Linked DNA regions of Homo sapiens: region 1 is linked to region 2. Evidence: promoter capture Hi-C in 16 types of primary human blood cells and fetal thymus (Javierre and others, 2016). All regions are on one chromosome and are shown on one strand. Each heading gives the region's core, a stretch centred on a gene start or on the middle of the fragment in contact. The rest is flanking DNA. Distances are from core to core; before and after follow the strand shown. Region 1 overlaps TEX2 (testis expressed 2). Region 2 holds the start of SMARCD2 (SWI/SNF related BAF chromatin remodeling complex subunit D2).

The links. The method cuts DNA at HindIII sites, captures the fragments that hold promoters and counts their contacts. A CHiCAGO score of 5 or more calls a contact.
Region 1: a contact is called between a fragment that was not itself captured here and the fragment with the promoter of SMARCD2 in region 2, in 1 of 17 cell types (activated CD4 T cells). The highest score is 5.7, in activated CD4 T cells.

Annotation. Positions count from the first base shown.
Region 1 is chr17:64,254,800-64,258,717 of GRCh38, reverse strand. All of the region lies in intron 1 of TEX2 (testis expressed 2), which reads left to right. Among named protein-coding and RNA genes, the nearest start is that of TEX2, 6.5 kb to the left of the region's middle. The HindIII fragment of the contact is 672 bases long and covers 1,664-2,335 here.
Region 2 is chr17:63,841,186-63,845,177 of GRCh38, reverse strand. SMARCD2 (SWI/SNF related BAF chromatin remodeling complex subunit D2) reads left to right here and starts at 2,493. Exons shown (of 13, transcript NM_001098426.2): 1 at 2,493-2,719. The coding sequence starts at 2,504. RefSeq lists a cis regulatory region at 502-891, silencers at 2,001-2,170, 2,541-2,770 and an enhancer at 3,491-3,570. The HindIII fragment of the contact is 8,345 bases long and covers 600-3,992 here.

The sequences.
Region 1 (3,918 bases), core at 750-3,249, 410 kb before region 2:
CTGCTAGCAGTCTCATAGATTATATGAGTTTATGATTCTAAGAATCTGAGAAATTAAACAATTGAAAGAAAATGATTGTATTCAGGACTTTTGAAGTCTCAGGTGTTTGTGATAGTGCTTTGAAAAACAAAACAATACGCAGGTGATAACAATGTGAGTAACTATCATTTACGGGGAATCGTGTGCCAGGCACTGTTCCTACCTTTAAACTTTATACCACCCTATGAATAGTAGATACTATTATCAATCTTATTTTAAGATGAGAAAACTGAGGCTCAGAAAGGTTAAATAACTTTCCAAGATTACACAGCAAGGTCAAGGACTGATAGCTGGGCCTAGAATACTGGCTTATGTTGCTCCCCAGTGGATGCCTGAAACCATGGATAGTGCTGAACCGTATATACACCACGTTTTTTTCCTATGCATGTATACCTATAATAAAGTTTAATTTATAAATTAGACACGGTAAGAGATTAACAATATAACTAATAAAAATAGAACAGTTGGGCCAGGTGCGGTGGCTCACACCTGTAATCCCAGCATTTTGGGAGGCTGAGGTGGGCAGATTGCCTGAGCTCAGGAGTTCCAGACCAGCCTGGGCAACACAGTGAAACCCCATCTCTACCAAAATACAAAAAATTAGCCAGGTGTGGTGGTGTGCACCTGTAGTTCCAGCTACTCAGGAGGCTGAGGCAGGAGAATCGCTTGAGCCCAGGAGGCGGAGGTTGCAGTGAGCCAAGATTGCACCATTGCATTCCAGCCTGGGCGACAGAGCGAGACTCCATCTCAAAAAAAAAAAAAGAACGGTTATAACAACCACATATTGTTCACAATTTTCGGAGATAGAAGATTCATTCTTAACATAGATCTTAGCAACCTCAGTACAAGATTTTTTCCTTTCCTAAGTTGTGAAGTTTGACTTTTTCACTTAAAGGAAGCACTTTACAGCTTCACTTTGGCGTATCCAAATTGCCAGCGTCATTAATCTTGTGCTTTGGGGCTGTTATTAAGTAAAATAAGCGTTACTTGAACACAAGAACTGTAATATGGTGACAGTTGATCTGATAACTGAGACAGCTAAAGGTGACTAATGAGTAGGTAGCGCCTACGGCGTGGATCTGCTGGACAAAGGGAGGATTCACATCCTGGGCAGGATGGGATTGGACAGTGAGAAATTTCATGACACTACCCAGAATGGCATGCAGTTTAAAACTTGCGAATTGTTTATTTCTGCAATTTTCCATTTGATATTTTCAGAACTTGGTTGGCTATGGGTGACGGAAACTGCAGATAAGTGGGGACTACTTGTATTGGGAGAACTTTGTTAAACTTAAAGAATTAACTCTTATTGCAGAAGACTTAAGTCCTTGAAAGGAAAGGCTTTTCTTTGGTGAACAAAAGCCATGTGCCAGGTCACTGTGAGCATAAATGGGACTATTGAGAGAAGAATCTAACCTTTCTGTGTGGAAGCTGGGAGAATGGGAAATGTGGGTGGGCTTTGAAACAACCAGGTAACCTTTGTCTGCTGGATTTGCCTGGAATATTGGTTCTAAGGGCTTTTCCCTAAGAAGATTATTGCAACAAACACATTAAGTGCCTCCCCAGCTTATTCTAACAGTTGAAAGCAGCACTGGGCAAGAGGAGCTGGCTTCAGTCATAAGCTTATTTAGGATCTGAGATTAAAACCTACCCGTTGGATTGCTCCTGCAAATAACCTTTCAGAATCCCAATATGCATTTTATAAGTTTCATTTCTCTTGCTGTTCAAAGCTGACATAAGCTGGCTTGTTTTCTTATTCAATTTTCAGTCCTTTCTTGGACCTCATGCTGTCTTTTGGGCTGTATTCTTATAGATGGTTATATTTATTATTTTAGGCTCAAAATAGAGAATTTAAAAATCTTTTTACTGAAAGGATTGACTGAACAGTGATCGTCATTCAGCAAGTATTTGAGCATCTACCAGGGCCAAGCATTGTGCTTGGCATTGGAAATCTGATGGGGAGCAAAACAGATGTGGTTCCTTCCTGCACAAAGCACATTATCTAGTCTAGACAACAAACAAGTCAATAGACATATGCATCATATATATTGGATTGTAATATGTGTAAAATCTCCTTCCTCTGAAGGAAAAGAACAGGGCACCAAGAAAGAAAGAAAAGGAAGAAACCAGCAACTGGGGGTCTTGGGCAGAGCATTTCAAGAGAGAGAGCAACGTGGATGTCTGGCTGCTGTGCAGAGGGGCAGAGAGGGGAATATGGGAAGGGCAGGCTCAGAAGGTGCCATTCTGCAGAGGACATGTCACAAGGCAGCATAGTGTAGCAGGGAGAGCAGAAGCTTGGGAACCAGACACTGCTCAAGGGGCCTCGGGAAGTTTCTTAACCTCTTTTGCCTCACTTTCCCACCTCCAAGATGCTATGAGGGTTGAATGAGCCTTGAGAGCCATGCCTGGCATGTACAGAAAGGACTGTGGGTAGGGTTTGCTGACTCTCAGGGCTGTGGGGAACTTGATTTCGAGTGGATGAGCTTCTCTTCCTAGTCAGCATTTCCCATGATTCCATGTGTAGCGTAACCATAGGGCAGAAGGTAAAACTAAGACAGCTGAGTAGGTGTATCCATGGAGGCATTCTAAGGTAGATTATGTTGGACTTTCTGTGGTGTGCTAAGCATTCAGCACCCGTACCTGGGAGACTTGGCCCTACCTGTAGGCATCTCTGCAGTGGGTGCAGTCCTGAGTGTGGAGCAAGGTGGACCGGAAGCAGCTGTTCCTCTGCTCTTGCCTGCAGTTGTTTGCTTTAGTGTTTGGATGCGGGCAGATCTTTCACCTTTTTTCCTGATAAGAGGAGACAGAGACTACTGGCCTTACAGCCAGGTGGTCAAACATGACAACTCGGAGTTGCTGTGTGCAAAACCTGCCTGAACCCCATCTCCAGCGAGATTTGATGATGTTTCCCCATTCAAAGGAACAACCACGCCTCAGGACCATACAAGGAGAGGACTTCATGAAACAGGTCACTGGCTTGGGATAGTCAATAAAGTGCTATGAACCCAGCCATATTTAAGTTATAGTTATCTTGTAAAGTATGTGTGAGGCCTCATCAAATTTGTATATAATTGACTAAGTTTTTCAAAATATCTTTTGCTCTGGAATTTTAAAAAACATACACAAAAGTGAAGAATAATATAATGGATATCAGGCATCTATTACTCAATTTTGATAATTATCAACTTTTGCTAATCTTGTTCCAAGATAGTTCCACAATGAAGCATTGTTGGTGGATTTTCTGTCACAGTATAAATGTGTCTTTGGACTATAAAATCATTTGGTAGATATTCTAGAGAAAAAAATGCCTGCACACTGCATAATTATAGGGCTGGTGTTAGGTAGTTGAAATTCAGAATCTGAAATGAACATTTAGTGGAAACCTCTTACAGACTTGTGTATGAGAAGTAGGCATATAAAATTAAGAGTGCTTTCAAGATGACCAGTTAGTCTATGTATTTACTAAGTAGCAACTGTACTGGGCAGTGTGCAAGGTACATTTTTTTTTTTTAAAGGCCAGGTGCTGTGGCTTATGTCTGCAATCCCAGCACTTTGGGAGACCGAAGTGGAGGATCACTTGAGGCCAAGAGTTTGAGACCAGCCTAGGCAACATAGTGAGACCCTGCCTCTACAAAAAAAAAAAAAAAAAAGCCAGATGCAGTGACACACACCTGTAGTCCTAGCTACTTGGCAGGCTGAGCTGGGAGGAGGATTGCTTAAGCCTGGGAATTCAAGGCTGCTGTGAGCCATGATGGCACCACTGCACCACAGCGTTGGTGACAGAATAAGACCCTGTATCTAAAAATCAAACAAACAAAAAAGGACAGTGTTTGTCCACAGTGGCTCATAAAATTATGAGCCCATGATGAAGTCACAGGT
Region 2 (3,992 bases), core at 1,244-3,743:
AGCTGGGGAGGGTTTTAAACAAGGGATTGACAGGAACTGAGTTATATTTAACCGTTTGATCTGCTTTATTATTATTGAGACAGTGTCTTACTCTGTCACCCAGGCTGGAGTGCAGTGGCACGATCTCTGCTCACTGCAACCACTGCCTCTTGGGTTCAAGCAATTCTCGTGCCTCAGCCTCCTGAGTAGCTGGGATTACAGGTGTGCACCACCACGCCCAGCTAATTTTTATATTTTTAGTAGAGACATGGTTTCACCATCTTGGCCAGACTGGTCTCGAACTCCTGACTTCAAGTGATCCACTCACCTTGGCCTCCCAAAGTGCTGGGATTACAGGTGTGAGCCACTCCACCCAGCTGATCTGCTTTTAAATGCACTTATTAGCTTGCCCCTTTTCTAGGGTAGAAAAAATCTTGTGTTTTCTGATGCGACCCACTGGGTCGCATCAGAATTACCTAGGAAGCTTATTTTTCAAATACAATACTGAGAGCCATTGGATTGGAGGGGTGGCTGGCGGAGGTATTTTGGAGTAGCTTCCCAGAGGACTCTGATTCTCCACTGCCCCTATCACTTTGAGAATTACTGTTGTTCTAGAAGCTTAAAAGGATTGAAATGGATATTAGCTGCCTTATCATGAACTCTTAACCCACTTTACAGGGATGGGAGGGGCCATGATTCAGTGACTTTAACAATTCCAGTGGCCAGTCCCCAGACTGACAGGTTATCGACTCTTGGGGCAATAGAGTGGGATCTCTAAGTTCAGGAGGTAAGAAAACAGCAGCAGCGGTGTTTATCACTAGAGGCATGAGGAGAACTAATTTCTAAAAAGCACTGGAGAACTATACTGTAAAAAAGATCTGGGGTGCTATGATGCAAGGAAGGAAGTATTACTTGGTTGGGGCTGGAAAAATAAAGCAATTATAGTAAAAAAACTAAAAAAAAAAAAAAGTCTAGATCCCGGCTTCTTGACAGTGTGGTCTGAGAAGCAACAGCATCGCTGGCAGCTTGTTACAAATGCAGAGTCCTGGGCCCTGCCACAATCTGCATTTTTAATAAGAGCCTCGAGTGTTTTTTATGTGCTCATTAAAGTTTAAGCAGCACTGGTCCATATCACGGCGAGGAGATCCAGACCATCAGAGGGTAGGCTCCCTGGCACAGCTGACGCATTTTTGAATACTTTGATACAGCACAGTGTACCTGAAAAGATACTGCATTTTTGAAAATTAAGTGCTATAAATACTGGAGAAAGACCTCTTTTTTTAAACTGCGGGGAGGTTTCTCATAAGCCAAATTTCTTTTGACTAGAAGCATTTTCTGGGGAGTAAAGTACCAGGCTTCCTTAAAGTGAGGCGGAGCCACGTTAAAAATGTGCGGTAGAACTCAGCCTTGGCCAAGTCGACCGTTCACCAGCTGGGTCAAGTCTGGAGCCTCCTAGGTCCCTTGGCAGTTCCGAGCTACCAGCATGAGCTTTTACAGGAAGTTGAGTTGGCTGCTGTTCTGCCCCACAGAGCAGCTGAGTCTTTTTTTTTTTTTTTTTTTTTTTTGATGAGTTTCACTCTTGCCGCCCAGGCTGGAGTGCAGTGGGGCGATCTCGGCTCATTGCAACCTCTGCCTCCAAGGTTCAAGCGATTCTCCTGCCTCAGCCTGCCGAGTAGCTTGGATTACAGGCGCCCGTCACCACACTCGGCTAATTTTTGTATTTTTAGTAGAGACGGGGTTTTCACCATGTTGGCCAGGCTGGTCTCGAACTTCTGACCTCAGGGGATCCGCCCGCCTCAGCCTCCCAAAGCGCTGGGATTACAGGCGTGAGCCACAGCTACCGACTCTGAGTTGAGTCTTTAACGCCGAAGATGCAGAAAGGAGACTTGACAAAACTATTTTCGGGGAGTGTGGCCGCGGAATTCGGTGAGGGTGCTATACCGGGAGAGAGTAGTAGCAACGGCTCATTCACTGTGAAGCCCCTAAGTGACCTTAGACCTCTGACCCCGCGCCTCACTCGGCGCTTCCGCGCGCAGCTTCCGCTCCCGCCCCTCCGACGAAAGGCTGGGCCAAAGGTGGGGGGGTGGGGCTCTGAGGTCGGCAGTTAGGGGCGGTGCCCGCTGGGGGCGGGTCTCGCGAGGGGCAGGATTCGAGGAGGCACTCGAGCATTGGGCACCAGGTAGAGGCGGGGCCTAGTGCTGGGCTGGGTTGGGCGGGGCAGGGAGTTCGTAGCCGCCTCTGGGTAACTCGACTCGGGCGGCCAAACCTCCGGAGGCCGGGGACGGAAGGCGGGCCCGCAGCAGATCCTGGATCCGGAATCTCCCGGGCAGGAGCGGAATCTGTCCCGAACCGGGTCTGTGAGGAACTCGCGAACTTGGATTAGGAAATCCCGGAGCCCGGATCGACAAATCCCGGAACCCGGAATTAAGATCGCCAAGTCCCGGATCGCGGAGCACAGAGCACGGAGTGGACTCGACGCGGAGCCCGGAGTCCGGATCGCGGCACCGCGGGACGGGACGGAGCGATGTCGGGCCGAGGCGCGGGCGGGTTCCCGCTGCCCCCGCTAAGCCCTGGCGGCGGCGCCGTGGCTGCGGCCCTGGGAGCGCCGCCTCCCCCCGCGGGACCCGGCATGCTGCCCGGACCGGCGCTCCGGGGACCGGGTCCGGCAGGAGGCGTGGGGGGCCCCGGGGCCGCCGCCTTCCGCCCCATGGGCCCCGCGGGCCCCGCGGCGCAGTACCAGGTGAGCAAGGAGGACGCGAGCGGACGGGGGCGAGAGGCGCTGCGAGGGCGCCCGGGCCGGCGGCTGAAGGGGCCTCGAGTGAGGGCCCTGGGGAATGCATGAGGAACTCCGGGAGACGGTGGAGGGCGGGCCGGGACCCTCGGGCTGCGGCGGGTCGCGGTGGAGAAGTGGGAAGGGGAAGCAGGTTCTGCAGCGGAGGGCTGGAAGCAGCTGGGAGGCCTGGGGGCTTCCGCGGCACAGGGATTCCGAGTGACTGGGAGATGGAGGAGTTTGGGGAGCCAGTGAATTGTGGCGGGTGGGTTGAGAAGTCTAGGGTAGGAGGGCTGGAAAGTGATGAGAAAGTTTGGGAAAGGGCCCTCGCTGAGAAACCGGGGTTACCCTGCATCGGCCTTGGTCCCAGTCCAAGTCTGCCCTGTTTTTTCTGATTGGGAACTGGCGGAGCTCTAGCGTGTCTGAGATGGCTCCCGGCTGCTAATAAGGAGGAAGGAGCCTGGCTTCCCACGGGCACGGGACGCTGAGGCTAGGGCCAGGGGATTCCAGCTTGTGCACGGGCGGACTTTACTCCTGAGGCAGGGCCAGGCGCCTTCGCTGGGAGGACTCCAGCTTAGACCAGAGACGGTGGTGGCCTGGCCTGAGGGGAGGCCCAGCCCAGTCACAGGCCGGCTCTCTTCTGGGCTTTCTGCCTCCTGTCATCGTGTCCGGGAGTTGATTAGTCTGGACGTGCAGAGTGGAGCCCTGCTGGTCTGGGGCCGGAGGAGTCTGCGAGAGTTGCTTCAAAGAGTGCTGTCCTGACCCCTTTGGGGTTTTGAGAGCTGCTCAGATTGCAGCTTCAAAAGCCCTTGCAAAGCAGCGACTTCTGCTCAGTGTGTGAGGACCTCAGCCTGACCCTGCCAGTGCTCTAGTCTGCTGTTCAGGTTGCCCCAGAGGGCTTGGAAACTGTGCCCATCTGCCTTGTCACCCTCTCTGCATTTTTATTTGGCCTTCAGGTTCTAACTCCACCACGTCCGAAGCCATGTGCCCAAGCATTTGACACTGGCTTCTTGCTCATCTACGGGTTTGCTGTGGGCTTCCTCTGTTTTCGACTCATGTCTCCAGGCAGAGGTCCTTAGGGATCCTCGTGGAGTATACACAGCCTACCTGCCCCACTGGGCCCTCACTTCTAAGGAGATGGCTTAACTAGGGACAGTGACTGGATTTTTTTTTCCTTCTTACTCCTCATTCTTCCTCCTTTCTCAAGAGAAAAGAGAGTCTGGGTATGGGCAGAGACAGACCT